Linked DNA regions of Homo sapiens: all the other regions are linked to region 3. The links are contacts of gene promoters, found by promoter capture Hi-C in blood cells and fetal thymus (Javierre and others, 2016). All regions are on one chromosome and are shown on one strand. The core of a region is centred on a gene start or on the middle of the fragment in contact, and the rest is flanking DNA. Distances in the headings are between cores, read along the strand shown.

Region 1 (4,437 bases), core at 284-2,783, 420 kb before region 3:
GAAACTGAGGCTGAAAGGTTAAGTCAGTTGCCCAGTTACTGGCTAATACATGAAAAATGCTAGAACTGGGACCCAGTTGTCCCAAATCCAAACTCCATGCTCTCACTGCTTCCTGATTTACACACACTGTCAACAATACACAGTTTTCTCAAGAAGAGATACGTGGATCAGCTTTCCTTACTACCACAGTCAAGAACTACTCGGCTGGGCAGGAGGATCGCTTGAGCCCAGGAGTTCAAGACCAGCCTGGGCAATGTAGTGAGACCCCTGTCTCTATTTAAGAAAAAACCAACAAAGAATTACTAAAACTTTCTCTTCTCTTTCTTTTTTTTACATTCACTTCCTTGGTCCCTTGTTCTGAGTCAAATCCTCTCTGCCCTGATACACAGCACTCCTTGAACTGCTTTCTAAACAAGACCATGCCACTAGGTCGACTTGCCCCCTTCCAGATCACCACATACAATGTGTTAATTACTAGACTTGATCTTAGCCAAAAGGCTGAGAAGCGATACAATGTATTAATTAATCTTTCAACGGTCTCATATGACTGTGAGAAGTGATACAATGTGTTAATCTTTCAACTGTCTCATATGACTGTTGACTTTCTCATATGTCTATCTCACTTTACAGATGAGAAAACCAAGGCTCTTCTTACCTCTGAGCTTCATCTTGTCCCTATTCTTTCCTATTATTAGTCCAAGGATGCTAAAGATGATACCCATGGCCAATGCTAATTTGACAGGGTGTGGCTTTGCCTTGGAAACTAAAAGTAACCAAATTTGTCTCAACCATTTTGAGACAAATGCCTATACTCCTCCCTCTACCTAGATAACACCATTCATGTCCATTCCTTGCCTGGCTAATTCCTATTCATTTTCCAGGTCTCAGCTTAGATGTCACTTCCCCCAAGAAGCCTTCTCTGGATTCCACTTTCTTGTCTAGGCTGGGTAAACTCCTCATGTGCTTTCTTCCCTTCCTTTCCCTCCTCTCCCCTCCCTTCCTTTCCTTTACTTTCCCTTCTTTCTCCCTCTCCTTCCTTCCTTTTTTTTCTTTCAAGACAGGGTCTCACTCTGTTACCCAAGCTGGAGTGCAGTCGCAGGATCACAGCACTGGAGCCTTGACCTCCTGGATCAAGTGTTCCTCCCACCTCAGCCTCCTGAGTAGCTGGGACTACAGGTGCACATCCCCATGTCTGGCTAATTTTTGTATTTTTTGTAGAGATGGGATTTCGCCTTGTTGCCCAAGACTGGTCTCAAATTTCTGGGTTCAAGCAATCCTCTCACCTTGACCTCCCAAAGCTCTGGGATTACAGGCATGAGCCACTGGGCCTAGCTCTTACATGCTCTTAAAGTTTCTTGGCTTGAAATTGCAGCACGCTAAGCAATAAGGAAACAAAAATTAAAAAGCAAAACTTCCAGGAGCGCCCTATAAAGCTTAAGAATAAAAGAATGAAAAAATAATGTATGTTATTTACTGGCTGGAGTAGTTAGGACAGGCAGAGCCCTAATGGAAAAAGGATATAAAGGATGGTATAGGATATTCATCCTATACCTTGACAGAGGACAAACGCTGGAAGCAAGGAAATGTTTATAAGAAACACTCGTGCTCTTCACGGATGCTTTCGGTATTCCATTAAAGCTTAGAAACTTAGTTTTGAGAGATACCAAAAATCATGTGGTGCAATTCACATCCAATGCTGGAACTATATTACTCTTAAATTTGTCCGGGTCAATGTAAGTATTATAAGCTTTGTTAATTCAACAGACATTCATTAAACAACTCTTATGTTCAAGGGAACTGATGACACAAAGTTGAAAAAGTATAAGGTGTCAGCCCTTAAGGAACTTGTCAGGTAGCCAGGTAGTAGAGAATAAATGGTCATTTATTTATCCACTTAGCAAACATTTATTTCATGCTCTATGCACCAACACAGTATCTTGAAAGACTGGTATTATTGTCATCTCTATTTTATAGATGAGGAAATTGGGTCTCAGAAAGGTTAAGTAATTTCTGAGCTTGCGCAATTATGGTGTCTGGCACATTCTAAGCATCTTTTATCCATTAGCTTATTTACTCTGCATAATCACCACCCGTGAGGTAGCTACTTTTGTTAGCTTCATTTACATATACGGAAATGTCATTCTGAAAGGGTAACTGACCCTACTAATAAATGGCAGAACCAGGATTACCTCCAGACAACCTGGTTCCAGCATCTATGCTCTCAACCACCATGTTCTATTGACATATTGTTAAGCCAGTCAGAGTCAAGTCAGTGTGTGAGGGTCATGTAATGAAGAACAATGCAAACAATAAATGGTCAATATAACTTGTGTCAGTTCTTTCAGTTTCTTTGATTTTTCTCTTCACTCCTTATTGTCCAGTTAACTCCATTACCAAAAATAAATTGCAGAGAAGGAAAATGGCACAATGATGTGGGGGTGATTTTGGCAACAGGTTGGGAAAATATTGCTTTGAGTGGGGGCTTCTACCCTCAGTTAACTGCAGGCTTCTAACTCTCTGAAACGTGCACATTTTAGTGTGGATGAGCTTCTTTGCATCTTTCTGGGAGAAGTTCTACAGCTTTCTTAGATTTCCCTGTGACCCATAAAAGGCTTTTAAAAAAAAAAGACCAATTATTAGCCTACTGAAAGCCAATGGAACATTAGGCACGTCAATATTTTATTATAAAAAAATCTATAAATGCTATGGAGGCATTAAAATATTTAGAACAACCCTGTGGTGACACAGAAAATGTTGATGTGATAATGCCAATAACAATTTGAAAGTGTTATGTTCACTTTCTCAACTCTGATTACCTCCTCAATCCATGCATATTTCACTTCCTTTCTTCCAACTAGACTGTACTTAGCAAGGTCACCAGTGACCTTCACCTTGTCAGATCCAGCAACCACTTCTCTATCCTCGAATTTGCAGTATAGTTGGCCACCAGCTCTGCTTCCATGCCATAACTAGTCTGTTTCTACCTTACTGGCTCTCTTTCCCAGTCGCAAATGCCTCACACTTGAGGTATTTAGGTGTATTTAAGTCACGTCTGCAGCCCAGACTGCTACAGTGAGCTCTGTACAACAATATATCCAATTGTCTACTTAACATCACTCCTTGACTAAAATGTAAGCATCTCAGACCAAGTATTTCCAGTCTGGGCATGGTGGCTCACCCCTGTAATCCCAGCACTTTGGGAGGCCAAGCCAAGAGGACTGCTTGAGTCCAGAAGTTTGATACCAGCCTGGGCAATATAGCAAGATCCCATCTCTACAAATAATAATAATAATAATAATAATAATAATAATAATAATAAAAGAGCTGGGTGTGGTGGTGCATGCCTGTAGCCCTAGCTACTTGGGAGGCTGAGGTGGGAGGCTCACTTTAGCCCAGGAATTGAAGGCTGTGAATATTTTCAAATAATTAATTAATACTATTATTGCCTTTCTCGTTTGGCTCCCAGAACAGTACCTGGTCCACAGAGGACTCTCAAGAAATAGTTGCTGAATGAATGAATGAATGTAAAATGGGGTAAATAATTATATTTTTAAATTATTTTTTAAAATTGTACATATATGTATATATAACTGTACAATTTAACAACATGCTATGTGTAGACATTAAAGTGATGGGAAAAACACCAAACATTAACAGCGGTTGTGCATGAAATTAAAAGATTTTTCTTAAAACTCCTTCTCTATTTTTCAATTTTATTTACAGCGTAGTGGTTAAGAATACCAAAATTTAGAGTCTGAGTGAAGACTGCCAGTTACCAGCTGCACAACCTTGGTTTCCTCTTGTGTCAAATTGGCTTAAAAATATACACAGTACCGGCCAGGCGCGGTGGCTCACACCTGTAATCCCAGCACTTTGGAAAACCGAGGCGGGCGGATTGCCTGAGCTCAGGAGTTCGCGACCAGCCTGGGCAACAAGGTGAAACCCCGTCTCTACTAAAATACAAAAGAATTAGCCGGGCGTGGCGGCGGGTGCCTGTAGTCCCAGCTACTTTGGACGCTGAGGCAGGAGAACTGCTTGAACCCGGGAGGCGGAGATTGTAGTGAGCCGAGATCGCGCCACTGCCCTCCAGCCTGGGAGACAGAGTGAGACTCCGTCTCAAAAAAAAAAAAAAAAAAGTATATATCTATATATAGATATATAGATAGACGCAGTACCTCCTTTGTATTAACATCCCTAATAAGCTTTACTGTGAAATTATGGATGAAAGGATCTTTGCACGATGCAGGTACGTAGTGAGGGACAGTAATGTTAGTTGATAACGATTACAGGTATGTTTTATTTTATAATGAAAATACATTTGTCTTCTAAACCTTTACCGAAGGGAGTGAAAAGAACACCTCACCCAAACGCCCGCCCTTATGTGCGCAGCCCCGCCTCCTGTAGGCCCCACCCCACCAAAGGGTGCGCCTGCGCCGT
Region 2 (4,218 bases), core at 979-3,478, 260 kb before region 3:
TTGGGTGGCCAAGGCGGGCGGATCACGAGGTCAGGAGATCGAGACCATCTTGGCTAACACGGTGAAACCCCGTCTCTATTAAAAATACAAAAAAATAAGCCAGGCGTGCTGGTGGGCGCCTGTAGTCCCACCTACTTGGGAGGCTGAGGCAGGAGAATAGCGTGAACCCGAGAGGAGGAGCTTGCAGTGAGCCGAGATCGCGCCACTGCACTCCAGCCCGGGTGACGGAGCGAGACTCCATCTCAAAAAAAAAAAAAAAAAAAAAAAAAAATCTTTATAGCTGAGTGCGGTGGCTCACACCTGTAATCCCAGCATTTTGGGACGCTGAGGCAGGCGGATAACCTGAAGTCAGGAGTTCGAGACCAGCCTGGCCAACATGGTAAGACCTTGTCTCTACTAAGAATACAAAAAATTAGCCAGGTGTGGTAGTGGTGCCTGTAATCCCAGCTGCTCAGGAGGCTGAGGCAGGAGAATCGCTTGAACCTGGGAGGCAGTGGGTACAGTGAGCCAAGATTGCGCCATTGCACTCCAGCCTGGGAGAGTGAGACTCCATCTCCAAAATAAATAAATAAATAAATAAATCTTTATAAACAACACCATTAAGTAAATACTATTATTCTTCCATATTTTAAAGGCAATGAAATTGAAGCTTAGGTAAGTTAAGCAATTTGCCCAAGGTGCATAGCTAGTAAGCAGCAGAGCTAGAATTAGAGTCCAAGCTGTCTGACATCAGAACCAGACCTCCTCAGCACTATTTCTGTGCTCTGCCTCTGGGAAAAAAAAAAACTGGCCTACCCAAAATAAGAAATTTCCTTATAAAAAGAAATAACACATACACACATACACATATGAAAACTGAAAATATTTACAAATTATTCTCTAAATGGCGTGTTCTTCTTTTCCTATTATTTGGGAAGAGTAAGTACGTCATCAATACTATGAGAAACTTCAGAGTAATTCACCAGTATTTTTTTTTTTCTTTGAGGCAGGGTCTTACTCTGTCACCCAGGCTGGAATGAAGTAGTGTGATCTTGGCTCACTGCAGCCTCAACCTCCAGGCTCAAGCAATCCTCCCACTTGGGACTACAGGCATGTGCCACTATGCCTGGCTATTTTTTTTTTTTTAATGTTTTGGTAGAGTTGAAGTCTCACTATGTTGTCCAGGCTGAGTCATTTTCAATTTCAATTTTATTTTTGCAATGCATCATTTTAAATATATATATATATATATCTACAACCCTAACTTCCTCACCCAGAATCTCCTTCTCAGAACTAATCACTTTTTTTTTTTTTTTTGAGATAGACTTTTGCTCTTATTGCCCAGGCTGGAGTGCAATGGTGCGATCTCGGCTCACCGCAACCTCCACCTCCCAGGTTCAAGCGATTCTCCTGCCTCAGCCTCCCAAGTAGCTGGGATTACAGGCATGCACCACGACACCCGGCTAATTTTGTATTTTTTAGTAGAAACGAGGTTTCTCCATGTTGGTCAGGCTGGCCTCGAAATCCCAACCTCAGGTGATCCACCCTCCTTGGCCTCCCAAAGTGCTGGGATTACAGGCGTGAGCCGCTGCGCCTGGCCAAACTAATTACTATTAATGGTCTTGTGTTTCTTTCTAAATGTATTATATGCATATACAGATGCATGCATATTTCCTTTAATATAAATAGCAGCATAATATTTACACTGTTCTGTATCTTTTTACACTTAAAAATAACATATCTTGGCAAATATTCTGTATCAATACATGTAGAGTTACTTCGTTCTTTTCAACAGCTGTAAAACATTCTGTTGGGGAGATACTGGGAAGAAGATGAACTGAAAAGGGAGAAATTTATTAACAATAATACATAGCATTTCTCAGGCTCTGTTTTCTATGCATAAAACTGTAAGACTCCTAACCCCCATGCAAAGCCCATGCGTGCGTGTTCTCTCAGCCTACAATGGGGAGATATTCAGGTGCACTCTCCGATGTGCCAACACACAGAAAGGTTCAAGCCGTGCAGGGTAGTCCTTTCCCCATCACGTCTCATAAAAACTTCTGTGTCAAGTCAAAAGAACTTACTCGGCCGGGTGCAGTGGCTCATGCCTGTAATCCCAGCACTTTGGGAGGCTGAGGCGGGCAGATCACTTCAGGTCAGGAGTTTGAGGCCAGCCTGGCCAACATGGTGAAAACTTGTCTTCTAAAGATACAATAATTAGCCGGGCGTGGTGGCACGTGGCTGTAGTCCCAGCTACCTGGGGGGCTGTAGAATTGCTTGAACCGGGAGGGGGAGGTTGCAGTGAGCTGAGATCGAGCCACTGCACTCGAGCCTGGGAGACAGAGTAAGATGTCTCCAAAAAAAAAAAAAAAAAAAAGAGAAAAAAAAAAACTTAGTTCTGGTTTCAACATGATACATAAACTCTTCAAATCTGAGCGAGTAGCAACATGCAACATTCAGAATTGGCTTTGTCCTACAGTAACTAAGTGATTCCTTAGAATAAGAACCTTCTTAGAAGGCTCCTGATCTTTCATGCAAATAGACCTCTGGTGGGCCCTCTCTAGCTAACCTCCCAACAGTCCCATTAGGGTCTCAATCCGTTTAATGAAACGGTAACCATTGGCTCAAGATGAGTGATTCCAGTCTTCCCTGCCATCCCCTAAATACACACAATGAGGTGCTCCTGTAGAGTCAGCGCACCTCCTGTAAGCCTCATTGGCAGGCATGGAGAAAAGAGACTTCCATTAATGGACACCAAAGTTGGTGTTATTGCTCTCACTTACAGCTGAGGAAAGTGAGGTTAAGTACTAGCTAAGGAAAGAAGTGAGGCTGAAGTATTCATACAGGGGACAGTTATTAGTCTTCTGTTCCCACAAACTGCCTCTCCAGGGCTGGAGAACCCCTGTCTATCCACAACCATTCCAAGCACAACCTGTATTCACACTCCTATTAAATTATAAGTTTATCATGTACAGCTGTGTGCCCTTGGGCACTATGCATGTTTGATCATTCATTCATTCAATAAATATTCATCCCAGCACTTTGGGAGGCCAAAGCAGGTGGGTCACTTGAGGTCAGGAATTCAAGACTAGCCTGGCCAACATGGCAAAACCCTGTCTCTACTAAACATACAAAAATTAGCCGGGTGCGGTGGCTTATGCCTGTAATCCCAGCACTTTGGGAGGCCAAGGTGGGCAGATCACCTGGGTCAGGAATTTGAGACCAGCCTGGCCAACATGGCAAATCCCTGTCTTTACTAAAAATACAAAAATTAGCTAGGGATGGTGGCGGACGCCTGTAATCTCAGCTACTGGGGAGGCTGAGGCAGGGGAATCACTTGAACCCCGGGAAGCAGAAGTTGCAGTGAGCCAAGATTGCACCACTGTACTCCAGCCTGGGTGACAGAGCAGACTCCATCTCAAAAATAAATAAATAAGGCTGGGCATGGTGGCTCATGCCTGTAATCCCAGCACTTTGGGAGGCCAAGGCAGGTGGATCACCTGAGGTCAGGAGTTTAAGACCAGCCTGACCAACATGGAGATGCTCCGTCTCTACTAAAAATATAAAATTAGCCAGGTGCGGTGGCGCATGCCTGTAACCTCAGCTACCCGGGAGGCTGAGGCCGGAGAATCGCTTGAACCTGGAAGGTGGAGGTTGCGGTGAGGCGAGATCATACCATTGCACTCCAACCTGGGCAAGAAGAGTGAAACTCCATCTTAAAAATATATATAAATAAAAATAAATAAATAAATAAATATTTACTGAGTCCTGGCCATTGAGCCCAGGCATGCTTTCTCCTGGGGCTTTGTCCCAAAAGAGGCACAACTTGAAGCTTTCAACATGTAAACAAGTAGGTAAGTAAGATATATACAGTTAGCAATAAATTCTCTGGAGGAGAGGAAGGGTAAGGTGATAAAGTGTAACTAGGAAGAAGAGGCTGTTTTAGATAGAAGGGCCAGGAAAGGGCTCAAAGAAGGTGACATTCCAGCTGAAGCCTGAAGTGTGGGAGGTAAGAAGGAACCAGTCATGCAAAGACTGAGGATAAGCATATAGGCACAGTGTACAGCAGCTGCTGGACCTGTTTGGCTCATTTCAGCATAGCACAATGTGTCACTCAAAATATACCTTTCAAATAAAAATGAATCCACATTGCTTTGCCAAGGACTAAAACATATTTTAAGGCCAAGTATTACCATAAAATTTTACTTAAAATATATTGAAATAGGCTGGGCGCAGTGG
Region 3 (4,551 bases), core at 404-2,903:
AGAAACAGAACATAGCCCAGTTGATTATTTTTTATTCTGATTGATTTTTAGGAGTTCTTTACATAATCTGGGTTCTACTCATTGTGGGTTTTGAGGGAAATACCTTTTCCCAGTTTATGGCTTGTCTTTTCATTCTCTTGATGACGTCTTTTGATGTACATTAAAAATTATCTTTAATACAGTGAAATCGGCTAATCTAGAAAAGGATTTTTTCCTTGGACTGTTCATGGCATCGGTAAATTAAAAAGTAGTTACTGTCAAGTTCACTGCACATAAACCAGCATTGTTAAAAGTGGATCTCCATCATTCCATTTCCTTTCCTGCATTTGTCAGCATCGTTTTTCACACTAAAGATGAGGAGATCCATATTCCTAAGACATATACGCTTGGTCTGTAGAGACCCTCATTGCTCTAAGGCAGTGGTTGCCAGTTTTTTCCTTAAAGGGCCTAGTAGGACATAGTCCAGGCTTTGCCAGCCATACGGTCTGTCACAACTGAATTCTGCTGCCCTTGTAGCATGAAGGCAGCCAAACAATAGGTAAGGAATAAACATGGCTTTATTCGTGGCACTGAACTTTGAATTTCATATAATTTCACAACACAAAATTGTATTCTTTTGATTTTTTCCAATCATTTAAAAATGTCAAAACCATACTTAGCTGGAGGGCTGTAGGAAAACAGGTGGTGGGCTGGGTCTGGCACACAGGCAGCAGTTCGTGGACCCCTGTGCCAAGTGTTTGACGAAGCCCGTGAGGCAAACTGCACTTGCCGATAGAGGTTGCGCCACACAAGTGTCTTGGAAGCAATTTCTGGCTTGTCCTAGGCCTTAGAAAGTGCGTGCAGATCAGAGCCATGAAGTGAAGAGCAAAGCAAGTGACAGGCCTGTCTCAGGTTGTGCAACAGAACGTGTTTATGACAGATGTCCCCTGTCCAAGTGAGTGCACTGTGAGATAAGGGGCCGGTGACCTACCAATGCGTGTGGCAAGCCAGCCTGTTCCCCCTTGCAGGGGGAGGACACTCCTGCCCTTTATTCCAGGGAAGAGTATGTGTAAAAATATTCACCCTTGTTGGTATCAAATGCGCTGAAGAAAATAGGTATCGGGGTTTCAGCCATTCGGTCTCCTTGTTAGTGTTTCTAAGCCCTGATTTTCAGTTTCAAAACCTTGGTCTCTGAATCCGCAGTGATGGGTCTCTAGAGCGAATACATGGCAGGGCCGCCTTCCTCCGTACAGAAAGGGAGAATTGTGCTTGTGTGTTTTACCAAGCAGGACAGATGGGGCCGTCACCCCCGTGACCCGAGCCCTGCAAAACTGTGTTCTCACACGAAAACCCCCAGGCTCTGCGGGCAGCGTGGTCCTGCAGTGGCTAACACTGGGCGACCGGAGTCGTGTTCCGACCCCTAGGAGAGGAACCGGCTCGGTCGTGGTGCAGCCCGCGAGGAGACGACCTCAGGGCGTAATCCGACGCCGTGGGTTAAGACATCAGACCTCAGGCGCAGTGCAGCCGGCCCCTGGGGAGTCAAGGACCTTGATCGCCGATAACAAGTTGCCGTTGGCGGGCGCCGAGGGTGACCCGCGAGCGCGGCACCCGCCTCCCCGCCCCTAGCAGGACCCCCTCCGCCCCGCCCCCAGCCGGACCCCTCCCCGAGGCCCCGCCCCACCCGCGAGCCGCAGCCGCGGCCCCACAGCTTCTGGGGCTGGGGCCCCGGCAGCCGGGCAGGCCGGCCTGACCTCGACCTCCGCCGTGCGGGCCCGACCGGTGAGTCCAGCCCGGCAGTCGCAGGACCCGGCCGCCAGCCTCTCCCTCCACCTCTCCCTGCCCCCAGCGCCAGGCGCGGGCTGCGCTCGGTGGCGGCGGCGGGGCCCTCAGGCGGCCATGGCGGCAGGCGCCGGGGCCGGGTCCGCGCCGCGCTGGCTGAGGGCGCTGAGCGAGCCGCTGAGCGCGGCGCAGCTGCGGCGACTGGAGGAGCACCGCTACAGCGCGGCGGGCGTCTCGCTGCTCGAGCCGCCGCTGCAGCTCTACTGGACCTGGCTGCTCCAGTGGATCCCGCTCTGGATGGCCCCCAACTCCATCACCCTGCTGGGGCTCGCCGTCAACGTGGTCACCACGCTCGTGCTCATCTCCTACTGTCCCACGGCCACCGAAGAGGTAGGGCTGGCCGATCGCCCGAGCCGGGCCCCAGATGCGCTGCGGGCGGGTCGCTGGAGGCGCCGGGGGAAGGGCGGACCCACGCGCGGCTGAGCCTCTCCCGGGCCCCGGAGGGGCGGACTGGCCACTGCCCCGGGCGGTGTCCGCCCTGGGCCGCCTGGAGACTGTCACGCCACTATCCCAATCCCGTGACCATCCCAAGCCTCCCCTGGGCAGCGGAGGGGCTGTTAAGGTCACTGCCCCAGGTCCTATGTCCGCGCAGATCCTCCCCACGGCCGCGGACGGGCCGGAGGGCGCCTGCCCAGCCGCTATCCCATGCGGCGCCAACCTGTGAGACGGACCCGCGGTCGGGTGCTTTGCACACTGGGGACTGAACACCCCCATCTCCGTCCTGCCTGGCACAGGGACTTGTGCCAAGCCCGAGACGCCCTTTGAATACTTTCGTAACCGTTCGTTTCTGGAAGGTTGAGCTAGTGATCTTGAAATGACCGGTAGCACTGATCAAAGATGAGTTAAGAGGTAACTTCCTCTTTGCTTCATCGACTTTTTCAAGAAAAACAAACTGGAATGTTATCAAGGCAATAATTTTTTTGTCATCACAACCTAGGGATTAAAAAAACCCCAACATTTTATTAGCAATAATTACATTTGACCTTTGTACAAAATAAGGAGTAAATATAGGCTTTGGATAGCTGTTCATCAGAAGCACCCTTTGGGCTGAGTGTGGAGGGATAGGGGGCAGAGTGGAGTTCACTCCCATCTATAGTTTATACTACGTGGGATAAATATTACATTGCACATTCTGTGACATTACTTTCTATTCTCTGCTCCAAATAGTGAAGTCCCTTTATAATCATTTGAGTGTAGGCCTTGTGGAGGACTCATGGAGGTTGAGGTTGGATTAACAGAAATACAGTGGAAATATTTCATGCCCTCCATGCATGCATCCATTTTGTTGTTGTTTTTGAGACAGGGGTTTACTCTGTCACCCAGGCTGGAGTGCCGTGCCGTGGCTCGATCTCGGCTCACTGCAACCTCCGCCTTCAGGGTTCAAGCGATTCTTCTGCCTCAGCCTTCCAAGTAGCTGGGATTACAGGCGCGTGCCACCACGGCCGACTCACTTTTGTGTTTTTAGTAGATACAAGGTTTCACCATGTTGGCCAGGCTCATGCATCCTTTAAAAACAAAAATTTGATCGAGCCTACATTTTAAAATATCTTGTCAATGGATTGGTATGCTTATTATGTATTTCTTTTCTTTTTTTTTTTTTTGAGACAGAGTCTCGCTCTGTCACCCAGGCTGGAGGGCAATGTGGTGATCTCGGCTCACTGCAACCTCTGCCTCCTGGGTTCAAGCGATTCCCTTGCCTCAGCCTCCTGAATAGCTGGGACTACACGTGCCTGCCACCACGCCCGGCTAATTTTTGTATTTTTAGTAGAGACGGGGTTTCACCATATTGGCCAGGCTGGTCTCGAACTCCTGACCTCAAGTGATCCGCCTGCCTCGGCCTCCCAAAGTGCTGGTATTTACAGGAGTGAGCCACTGCGCCAGGCTTATTATATATTTCTTAATAGACATTCCCATTGTCATTTGCCATTGCTATTCATTTACATATTACATATGAAAAAGTAAGCTGCTTTAGTTTTTGGCTGTTTTGCTGCCTGTTTCTAGAATTTACCAGAGGGAGTGTGTTAGAATGAAAGGATAGCTGGGTTGGAAGTGGAGGTCTTGGTTTCTAACTGGCTCTTCCACCACAGACCTGCTGGGTCTGTGTTCCCACAGATACAATAGAAAATAATGCCTGCCAAAACAACTTGACAAGGATGCAGTGAGGACCAAATGATATATATGCAGATAAATGTAAAAGATTGCGATGTGCCTAACAAATTAAAAATATCACTCAACACATTAAAAATATTACTGTTATCAGACAACATCCTGAAAACACATAATAAAATTTAGTTTTGATTGGGTCCAGATTTAGCTAACAGCATTTGAATGTTTCTGATATTGGCCAGTTAAGTTGTGGACTCTTCAATGTTATTATTAATTTAAGAAGCATTTGTTGAACACTTAGAAAGAGCAGGGCTTACCAAAAAAGTCAAGAGCTTCTGCCTAGGGAAGTAAAGGGAGGCCTGATGGAAGAGGTACGTTTATGATTAATTAGTTTTTAGGATCAGCCTCATGTGAAAAAAAAAAAAAAAAGGGTGGAGGGTGGGGATTGGAGGCATTTAAAAATAAAGTGCAAAATCAAATGGCCCAAGAAGGGTAAATGAGAGTTAAAAACAAGAGTTTCTGAAATGTATGTCACTAGAACCTTCATATGCTTCTGAGTGACTGATGCAGGGAGGGGAAACGCCATTACAGGATCCACATTGCTTGTTTGGTGAAAGCCCAGCAACA

What was found. Contacts are between HindIII fragments. The CHiCAGO score rates a contact against its expected background, and 5 or more counts as called.
Region 1: a fragment that was not itself captured here is called in contact with the fragment with the promoter of CHPT1 in region 3 in 1 of 17 cell types (total CD8 T cells); the score reaches 5.3 in total CD8 T cells.
Region 2: a contact is called between a fragment that was not itself captured here and the fragment with the promoter of CHPT1 in region 3, in 5 of 17 cell types (M1 macrophages, M0 macrophages, monocytes and 2 more). The highest score is 12.7, in M1 macrophages.

Annotation. Positions count from the first base shown.
Region 1 is chr12:101,275,645-101,280,081 of GRCh38, forward strand. No RefSeq gene overlaps it. Among named protein-coding and RNA genes, the nearest start is that of UTP20, 2.2 kb to the right of the region's middle. RefSeq lists an enhancer at 4,160-4,437. The HindIII fragment of the contact is 205 bases long and covers 1,432-1,636 here.
Region 2 is chr12:101,432,340-101,436,557 of GRCh38, forward strand. No RefSeq gene overlaps it. Among named protein-coding and RNA genes, the nearest start is that of ARL1, 27 kb to the left of the region's middle. The HindIII fragment of the contact is 3,162 bases long and covers 648-3,809 here.
Region 3 is chr12:101,695,987-101,700,537 of GRCh38, forward strand. CHPT1 (choline phosphotransferase 1) reads left to right here and starts at 1,654. Exons shown (of 9, transcript NM_020244.3): 1 at 1,654-2,148. The coding sequence starts at 1,876. RefSeq lists an enhancer at 1,128-1,377 and silencers at 1,598-1,937, 2,198-2,387. The HindIII fragment of the contact is 18,657 bases long and covers 1-4,551 here.